3 separate regions of the Homo sapiens genome follow, and all the other regions are linked to region 2. The links are contacts of gene promoters, found by promoter capture Hi-C in blood cells and fetal thymus (Javierre and others, 2016). All regions are on one chromosome and are shown on one strand. Each heading gives the region's core, a stretch centred on a gene start or on the middle of the fragment in contact. The rest is flanking DNA. Distances are from core to core; before and after follow the strand shown.

Region 1 (2,771 bases), core at 156-2,655, 350 kb before region 2:
GCAGTGGCCCAAGCTGTACCTGGGCCCCTTTGAGCCATGACTGGAGCTACAGCAGTTGGGATGCCAGGAACAGTGTCATGAGGCTGCAGGGGGCAGCAGGGTCCTGGGCCTGGCCCAAGAAACCATTCTAGGGCTCTGGACCTGTGATGAAAGGGACTGAAATGCATTTCAGGACTTTTCCCCATTGTCTTGGCTATGAGCACTTGCCTTCCTTTTAGTTATGCAAATTTCTGTAGCCTGCTTGAATTCCTCCCCTGAAAATGGGTTTTTCTTTTCTACCACATGGCCAGGCTGCAAATTTTCCAAGTATTTTTGCTCTACTTCCTTTTTAAATATAAGTTCCAGTTTCAGGTCATTTATTTGCTTATGCATATAAGCATAGGTTGTTAGAAGCATCCAGGTCACATACTAAACACTTTGCTGCTTAGAAATATCTTCTTCCAGATATCCTAAATTGTCACTCTCAAGTTTAAATTTCCACAGATCCTTAGGGCAGGGCCACAATGTCTCCAAATTCTTTGCTAAAGCATAACAAAAGTGACCTTTGCTCCAGTCCCCAGTAAGTTCCTTATTTCCATCTGAGACCTCATCAACCTGGCCTTTATTTTCCAAATCACTATCAGCATTTCAGTCACAACCATTTAACCAGTCTCTAGGGAGTTCCAAATGTTCCCTGATCTTCCTGTCTTCTTGTGAGCCCTCCAGACTTTTCCAACCTCTGCCTGTTATGCAGTTCCAAAGTGGCTTCCACATTTTCAGGTATCTTTATAGCAATGCCCCATTCCTGCGTACCAATTTTCAGTATTAGTCCATTCTTGCACTGCTATAAAAAACCCCAGAAACTCTGTAATTTTTAAGAAAAAGAGATTTAATTGGCTCATAGTTCTGCTTCTGCTTCTGCTTCTGCTTCTGCTTCTGCTTCTGCAGGCTGTACAGGAAGCTTAACAGCTTCTGCTTCTGGGGAGGCCTCAGGAAACTTCCAATCATGGCAGAAGGTGAAGGAGAAGCAGGCACATCTTACATGGCTGGAGTGGGAGCAAGCAAGAAAACAAGCAAGCAGGAACAAGAAAAAAAGAGAGGGTGAGGGAGGTGTGACACACTTTTAGACAACCGGATCTTGTAAGAATTTACTCACCATACAATACCAAGGGGGAATGGTGCTAAATCATTCATGAGAACTCCACCCCCATGATCCAATCACCTCCCACCAAGCCCTACCTCCAACAATGGGGATTACAATTTGACCTGAGATTTGGATGAGGAAACAGACCCACACCATATCAGGGCATCTGATCTTCTGAGGACTGCTTTCAACCTCTTTGGAGAAGCCTCGTGCATCTTTGGTTAAGTCATAACCTTGATTAACACTTATTGATTTCACTTGGAAGGATATAGCTGGTTAAAAAAAAGTTCAAAAGCCACAAATATCAACTGTTTGTCCTGGCCAAAAAGTCATTATAAGAGATTTGAAAGAATTTTTTTTTTAAGAGCTCTCTGATTAGAAGTCAGCTTAATTAAAAGCCAATATCTAAGGTGGGAGAATTGCTTGCCTGGGAGTTCAAGGCTGCAGTGAGCTATGATCACACCACTGCATGCCAGCCTGGGGTACAGAGCAAGACCCTATCTCAAAAAAAAAATAAAAATAAAAATCAAGTTATCTCATTTATTTTTATTCCTCCCTACTTCTTCCTTTTTGTCATCTCCAATACCACATGGAAGGATCTAGAGAAGACTGCTGTATTAGTCTGTTCTCACATTGCTATAAAGAAATACCTAAGACTGGATAATTTATAAAGAAAGGTTTAATTGGCTCACAGTTCTGCAGGCTATACAAGCAGCATAGCAACATCTGTTTCTGGGGAGGCCTCAGGAAGCTTACAATCATGGCAGAAGGTGAAGGGGGAGCAGTCACACTGTTAGATATGAGTTCTCAATTTCTTTCCAAAGAATCAATATGTTAGTATGTTCAATTTTTTGCCTTCTACTTTTAAACTTAACTTCCTGTTAAAGCAACCTTTTTTGATTACCTGCTCCACCCTGACTCATTCCGATTACCTGCTCCACCCTGATTCATTCCTATTACCTACTCCACCCTGATACATTCCGATTACATGCTCTGTCATAACCATTTTTCCCACCAAACCACTCACCCCGTCACTCTCTTTAAATTAGCGGTCTAACCCTAGCCAATAGGGGAACGACACAGCAGCAGGGGCCACACATGCGTCAGGGATAAGAACCCCTTCCCCTCCCTTGTCCAAGTGTGCACTCACCATTGCTCCATCTGTAAGGGTGCACCCTTCTATAGAAGTAACTTGCCTTGCTGAGAATTGAAAGTAAAATTTTATATTCGAGTGCTATTTCTTTTGCGGCACCAAAAGTTTATTTATAACAACACCACGTGGTGAAAGCAGTACCAAGAGAGAGGGGAGGTGCCACACACTTTTTAATGACCAGATTTTATGAGAATTCACTCATTGCCACAAGGAGAGCACCCAAAGGATGGTGCTATACCATTCATGAGAAACGCCCTCGTGATCCAATCACCTCCCACCAGGCTCCATCTCCAACACTGGCAATTGCATTTCAACATGAGATTTGGGCTAGGCACACATCCAAACTATGTCAACTCCTAATGACTCAGACCCCTCAAGGAACTCAGAAAAAGGCACAATTCATCCCCTTTTTAGGGGTCTTCTGCTTTTCTTCCTAAATTTCAAGAGTTACAGGCAAGTTCCGCCGAGATCTAAAACTCTTCTCTCTTTTGTATT
Region 2 (2,700 bases), core at 52-2,551:
TTTCAGCCAACTGGCCACTGAAAGGGTCACTAGCCTTCCTCTGTAAGCTGTAAGTTGGCAGTTAGAAAGGGGTTAAATTCATGTCTTTTGCGAAGGTGAATTACATGGTTAGATATGTGCCGATCACCCTGTCACCGCCTGTGGGGCACACAACTCTGTGTTCCACTTGCTGTCTCATATAATGCCCGAAATTGTTGCCTAGAGAGCTGAACAGTGACATCTGTTGGTTCGATTTGAAATAGGCAAGTTCAAAAGAGAAACAGCCACACTAGTATTTCTTCCCCTTTCAAAACAAATAGGAACAATCATGACAAAGGAATGACCCTTCCAAAGGAAGTTTTAACATCAGCAGCATACTTTATCTGAAGAACAACACACGACTCCAAGTTTCAGGATGAGGGATATCATGTGACTTTTATTTTTGCAGAAAGCCCATCAAAGACTTTGTGTAAACCTTTTAAAACTCCAATTCAAAAGAAACAGTACTAAGACCTGTGTATCTGAGAAATTCCTCAATGCTCAAGATTTCATCCAGAAGCATAAATGAGCAAATAGAAAGTATGGATTTGGGGCAGTGGTGAGAAATAATGAAATTGCTTTCTGCTCTAGGAAACTTGAGAAACAAACCTTCCTGTGGATGTGCCTGTGAGTTACAACCCAGCTTGAATCCTTTCTAAATAGCTCCAAATTTCAAGATCACTTTGACAATCACCTAGCTCTTAGCTTCAATTAATTAAGTGTCCATGTTCCTTTGTACTGAATGCTCTATTTCTTTCCTTACAAAACTCTAAACCTCATTGAATGTACAATGGAAATGATTTTCTGGGAAATCTGGATAATCAAAAAATACTATATTCTGACAAGTTATATATATACATATGTAAATTTTTTATATATTATATATAATTTATATACATAAATTATATATATATAGTGTGTGTGTGTGTATGTGTGCACACTCCATACAATATCATTTCCTGCTCAGACCTTTACAAAAATTGCTAAGAAACAGTAAATTGCACAGTTTGGCCTTCAACCTTTTAATCACCCCAAGGAGAAAAGAAGTGGCTCAAAGAGTAGCATGAGAAAACAGAGGAGAAAATGAAGGCTTGGATAATCTGCCAACCGAATAACTGAGTAATGACATAATTGGATCATTGAAAAAAATGTTAAAATTTTTACCAGTTATTAATTAGAGAATCATGCATGACCCTGGGAACTTGCTTTTTGTTTTAAAACAGGAGCCACGATTATGAAATGGTTCAAGCTGGCTTATTCAGGTCTGCTGAGATCTCTACTGGTTTGCTTTTCAGATCCCTCGTGGTTCGAGAACAGAATGGCGTTAAATCACACTGCCCTGCCTCAGGACGAGCGCCTGCCCCATTACCTTCGAGATGGGGATCCTTTTGCTTCCAAACTTTCTTGGGAAGCGGATTTAGTGGCTGGCTTTTACCTAACAATAATTGGTAAGCTTCCTTAATTCTTCTGTGCAAAGGCTGCATTTAGAAAATTCATGGGCTGATATGTTAATTTTGTGAAAGGATTCTGATACTTAAGTGGATAGTTTAGTGGAGGCGAAGAGTGGGGAAAGGCAGAAGATGGAATGGCATTATGGCATTCAATAAATGTTTCCTAGAAATGACTCTTTATTATCATTATTATTAGGAATAAAATTCCATTGATAATCCAAGAACTCTTACAGCAAAATTATTTATCCATTTCATTTTGGTTACTTTGGGAGTAGATTTACTTTCTGAATACCAAAATTAATGATAATGATATTTTATTTAAACAGAGTGCTTTTTAAATAATGTTTTTGACATAATCATAAGTTTTAGGTTGAGAATGGGCCTTAAAAATAATCTAGGTCAGTCTCCTGTTCTCACAACTGTGCAAAACTCAATTGTGCTATTGTGCTATAGTACTATAGTAATGGCAGAAACACTGAGTTTACTTCACCTAAAAGTAAAGTCGCATCAAAATAGCTAAGCCATTTTGGTGACAGTTGAAAAATGTGTTGGTGATAAATGGAAGAAAGTCCGGGGTCAAAAGATTTTTGTGCATAATTGACGAAAGGGTGCACCTGCTTCTAGACTGCATGATCTCATTCATTCAGTAGCCACATGTGGCTTTTCCAAATTGAAAGTTGCTGTAGTGTAAATACTCACCAGATACTGAAGGCTCAGTACAACAAAAAGTGGTATAAAATATCTCATTAATAATTTTTAAAAATTAAATACATGTTGAACATACAACATTTTAGGTATGTTAAGCTAAATAAAATATATTATTAAAATTAATTTACTGTAAATTTTAAATTTATAAATTAAATTTTTACTTTGTAAATTTTTACTTTGTTTAATGTGGCTACCAGAAAATTTTAGAATCCATATGTGGCTCGCATTTCTGGCTTACATTACATTTATACTGGATAGCACTAATCTAGACAGTTAGGATTTAATTTAACCACCTATTTAAATTTAAGAAAAGAAACCATACTTTTCTTAAATTTAAAATTGTTGTTTTAACTTTGGGTGACCAGTGTGAAGGTGGGTTATGTCTTTAGGTTTGTTTGCCTTTAATTTTTTCAGATGTTGGGTCAAACTTGCTCTCTCTCTCTTTTCTCTTTGTTTCTATCTTTCTCTTCCACCCTTCTTCCCTTCCTCCCTTTCTCTCTTTTTCTCCCTCTCTCATCTATTT
Region 3 (2,700 bases), core at 106-2,605, 390 kb before region 2:
ATTTTTTTGTGTATCTGTTGTAGGTTTTTAAATTTGAGGTTACCATGAGGCTTGCAAATAACATCTTATACCCCATTATTTTAAATTGATGGCAGCTTAACATATTGCATAAACAGACAAACTAGCAAACAAGCAAATAGAAAACTAATAAAAGTCTACATTTTAACAACATCCTTCCATTTTTAACTTTTTTGTTTTATGCTATGTCTTGAAAAGTTGTTGTAGTTATTATTTTTGATAGGTTCATCTTTTAGTCTTCTTACTCAAGATATGAGTCCTTTACAAACCACAATTACAGTGTTATCATATTCTGGATTTGTCTGTGTACTTACTATTGCCAGTGAGCTTTGTACCTTTAGATGATTTCTTACTGCTCATTAACATCCTTTCATTTCAGATTGAAGAACTCCTTTTAGCACTTCTTGTAGGACAGGTCTGATGGTGATGAAAATCCTAAGCTTTTGTTTGTCTGGGAAAGTCTTTATTTCTCCTCCATGTTTGAAGAATATTTTCACTGGATAAAAGCTCTAGGATCCTATAATAAAAGTTGTTTTCTTTCAGCACTTTAGTAAACATTGTTTTCTTTCAGCGTGTTAGTGTCATGCCACTCTCTCTCTTGGCCTGTAAGGTTTCCACTGAGAACTCTGCTGCCAGACATATTGGAGCTCCTTTGTATGTTATTTTCTTTTCTCTTGATGCTTTTAGGATCCTTTCTTTATTCTTGACCTTTGGGAATTTGATTATTAAATGTCTTGAAGTTGTCTTATTTGGATTAAATCTGCTTGGTGTTCTGCATTATTCTTGTACTTGAATACGGGTATCTTTTCCTTGGTTTCAAAATTTCTCTGTTATTATCCCTTTGAATTAACTTTGTACCCTGATATCTCTCTCTCTCTGTGTGTGTGTGTGTGTGTGTGTGTGTGTGTGCATGTGTGTGTGTGTGTGTCTGTCCTAAGGCCAATAACCGTTAGATTTGCCCTTTTGAGGCTATATTCTAAATCTTATAGGCATACTTCCTCCTTTTTCTTTTTCTTTTTTCTTTTCTTTTTTTTGAGATGGAGTTTCGCTCTTGTTGCCCAGGCTGGAGTGCAGTGGCACAAACTCAGCTCACTGAAACCTCTGCCTCCCTGGTTCAAGTGATTCTCCTGCCTCATGCTCCCAAGTAGCTGGGATTATGCCACCACACCCAGCTAATTTTTGGTATTTTTTTAGTAGAGAAGGGGTTTCTCCATGTTGGCCAGGCTGGTCTCAAACTCCTGACCTCGATGATCCACCCACCTCGGCCTCCCAAAGTGCTAGGATTACAGGTGTGAGCCACTGCACCTGGCCCACTTCTTTTTTACTCTGTTTATTCTTTTGCCTTTTCTCACTGTGTATTTTCAAATAGTCTGTCTTCAAGCTCACTAATTTTTTTTTCTGCTTGATTAATTCTGCTATTGAGAGACTCTGATGCATTCTTCAGTATATCAGTTGAATTTTTCAGCTCCAGAATTTCTGCTTGAGTTTTAAAAATTATTTCAATCTCTTTTTAAAATTTATCTGGAAAGGATTCTAAATTTCTTCTCTGTGTTGTCTTGATCTTTCATCGATCTGTTATTTCATTGACCTTCCTCAAAGTAGCTATTTTGAATTCTCTGTCTGAAACGCCAAAGATCTCTGCCTCTGCAGGATTGGTCTCTACTGCCATTTTTACTTTGTTTGGTGAGGTCATGCTTTCCTGGATGGTCTTGATGCTTGTGGATGTTCATCTGTATCTAGACATTGAAGAGGTAGATATTTATTGTAGTCTTCATGGTGTGGGCTTGTTTATACCCATCCTTCTTGAGAAGGCTTTCCAAGTATTGAAAGTGAATTGAGTATTGTGTTGTAAATCTTTGGTCACTGCAGCTTTATCTGCTTTAGGGGGCACCTCAAGCCCCTTAATGCAGACTCTTACAGACTCATATAGATATCACCTTATTGGTCTTGAGAAAGACCCAGGTGAATTCCCTGTATTATCAGGCAGTGTCTCTGTTCTCTTTCCTTATTCTCCCCCAAACAAAAGGAGTCTCTCCTCTATGCTATGCTGCCTGGAGTTGGGGAAGGTGTGACACAAGCACCCCTATAGCCACCACCACTGAGACTGTGCTTGGTCAGACCTGAAGCCAGAACAGTACTAGCAGTTGGCAAAGGCCTGTGGTAACCATTGCCTGGCTACTGCTGATGGTTGTTCAAGGCCCAAAAGTTCTTTAGTCAGCAGGTGGTAAATCCAACTAAGCTTGTGTCTTTCCCTTCAAAATAGCAGGTTCCCTTGTGACCCAGGGTGGGTCTAGAAATACTGTCCAGGAGCCAGAGCCTAGAGTCAGGAATGTTAGGAATCTACTAGGTGCTCTACTTTACTGTGGCTTAGCTGACATATATGTTGCAAGACAAAGTTCTTTTTAATCTTTTTTCTCCTTTCCTCAAGCAGAAGTCTCTCCCTGTAGCCACTGTAGCTCCACACTCATGGCAAGTATTGACTGGCTACCACAGCTGTTTATTCAAGGCCCAAGGGCTCTTCAGTTAGCAAGTGATAAATCTTGCCAGTCCTAGGACTCTCCCTTCAGGGCAATGGGTTCCCTTCTGGCCCAGGGCAGGTTTAGAAATGCCATCCAGGAGCTAAGGCCTGGGATCAGGGACTTTAGGGATCTGCTTGGTCCTTCATTTTACTGTGGCTGATCT

What was found. The method cuts DNA at HindIII sites, captures the fragments that hold promoters and counts their contacts. A CHiCAGO score of 5 or more calls a contact.
Region 1: a fragment that was not itself captured here is called in contact with the fragment with the promoter of OPN5 in region 2 in 1 of 17 cell types (naive CD4 T cells); the score reaches 5.1 in naive CD4 T cells.
Region 3: a contact is called between a fragment that was not itself captured here and the fragment with the promoter of OPN5 in region 2, in 3 of 17 cell types (non-activated CD4 T cells, activated CD4 T cells and total CD8 T cells). The highest score is 5.9, in non-activated CD4 T cells.

What each region holds. Positions count from the first base shown.
Region 1 is chr6:47,428,858-47,431,628 of GRCh38, forward strand. No RefSeq gene overlaps it. Among named protein-coding and RNA genes, the nearest start is that of CD2AP, 48 kb to the right of the region's middle. The HindIII fragment of the contact is 934 bases long and covers 939-1,872 here.
Region 2 is chr6:47,780,731-47,783,430 of GRCh38, forward strand. It overlaps OPN5 (opsin 5), which reads left to right and starts at 1,302. Exons shown (of 7, transcript NM_181744.4): 1 at 1,302-1,466. The coding sequence starts at 1,337. The HindIII fragment of the contact is 3,260 bases long and covers 1-1,469 here.
Region 3 is chr6:47,389,354-47,392,053 of GRCh38, forward strand. The region is part of intron 2 of LOC105375082 (a long non-coding RNA gene); the gene reads right to left. Among named protein-coding and RNA genes, the nearest start is that of TNFRSF21, 81 kb to the left of the region's middle. The HindIII fragment of the contact is 1,799 bases long and covers 457-2,255 here.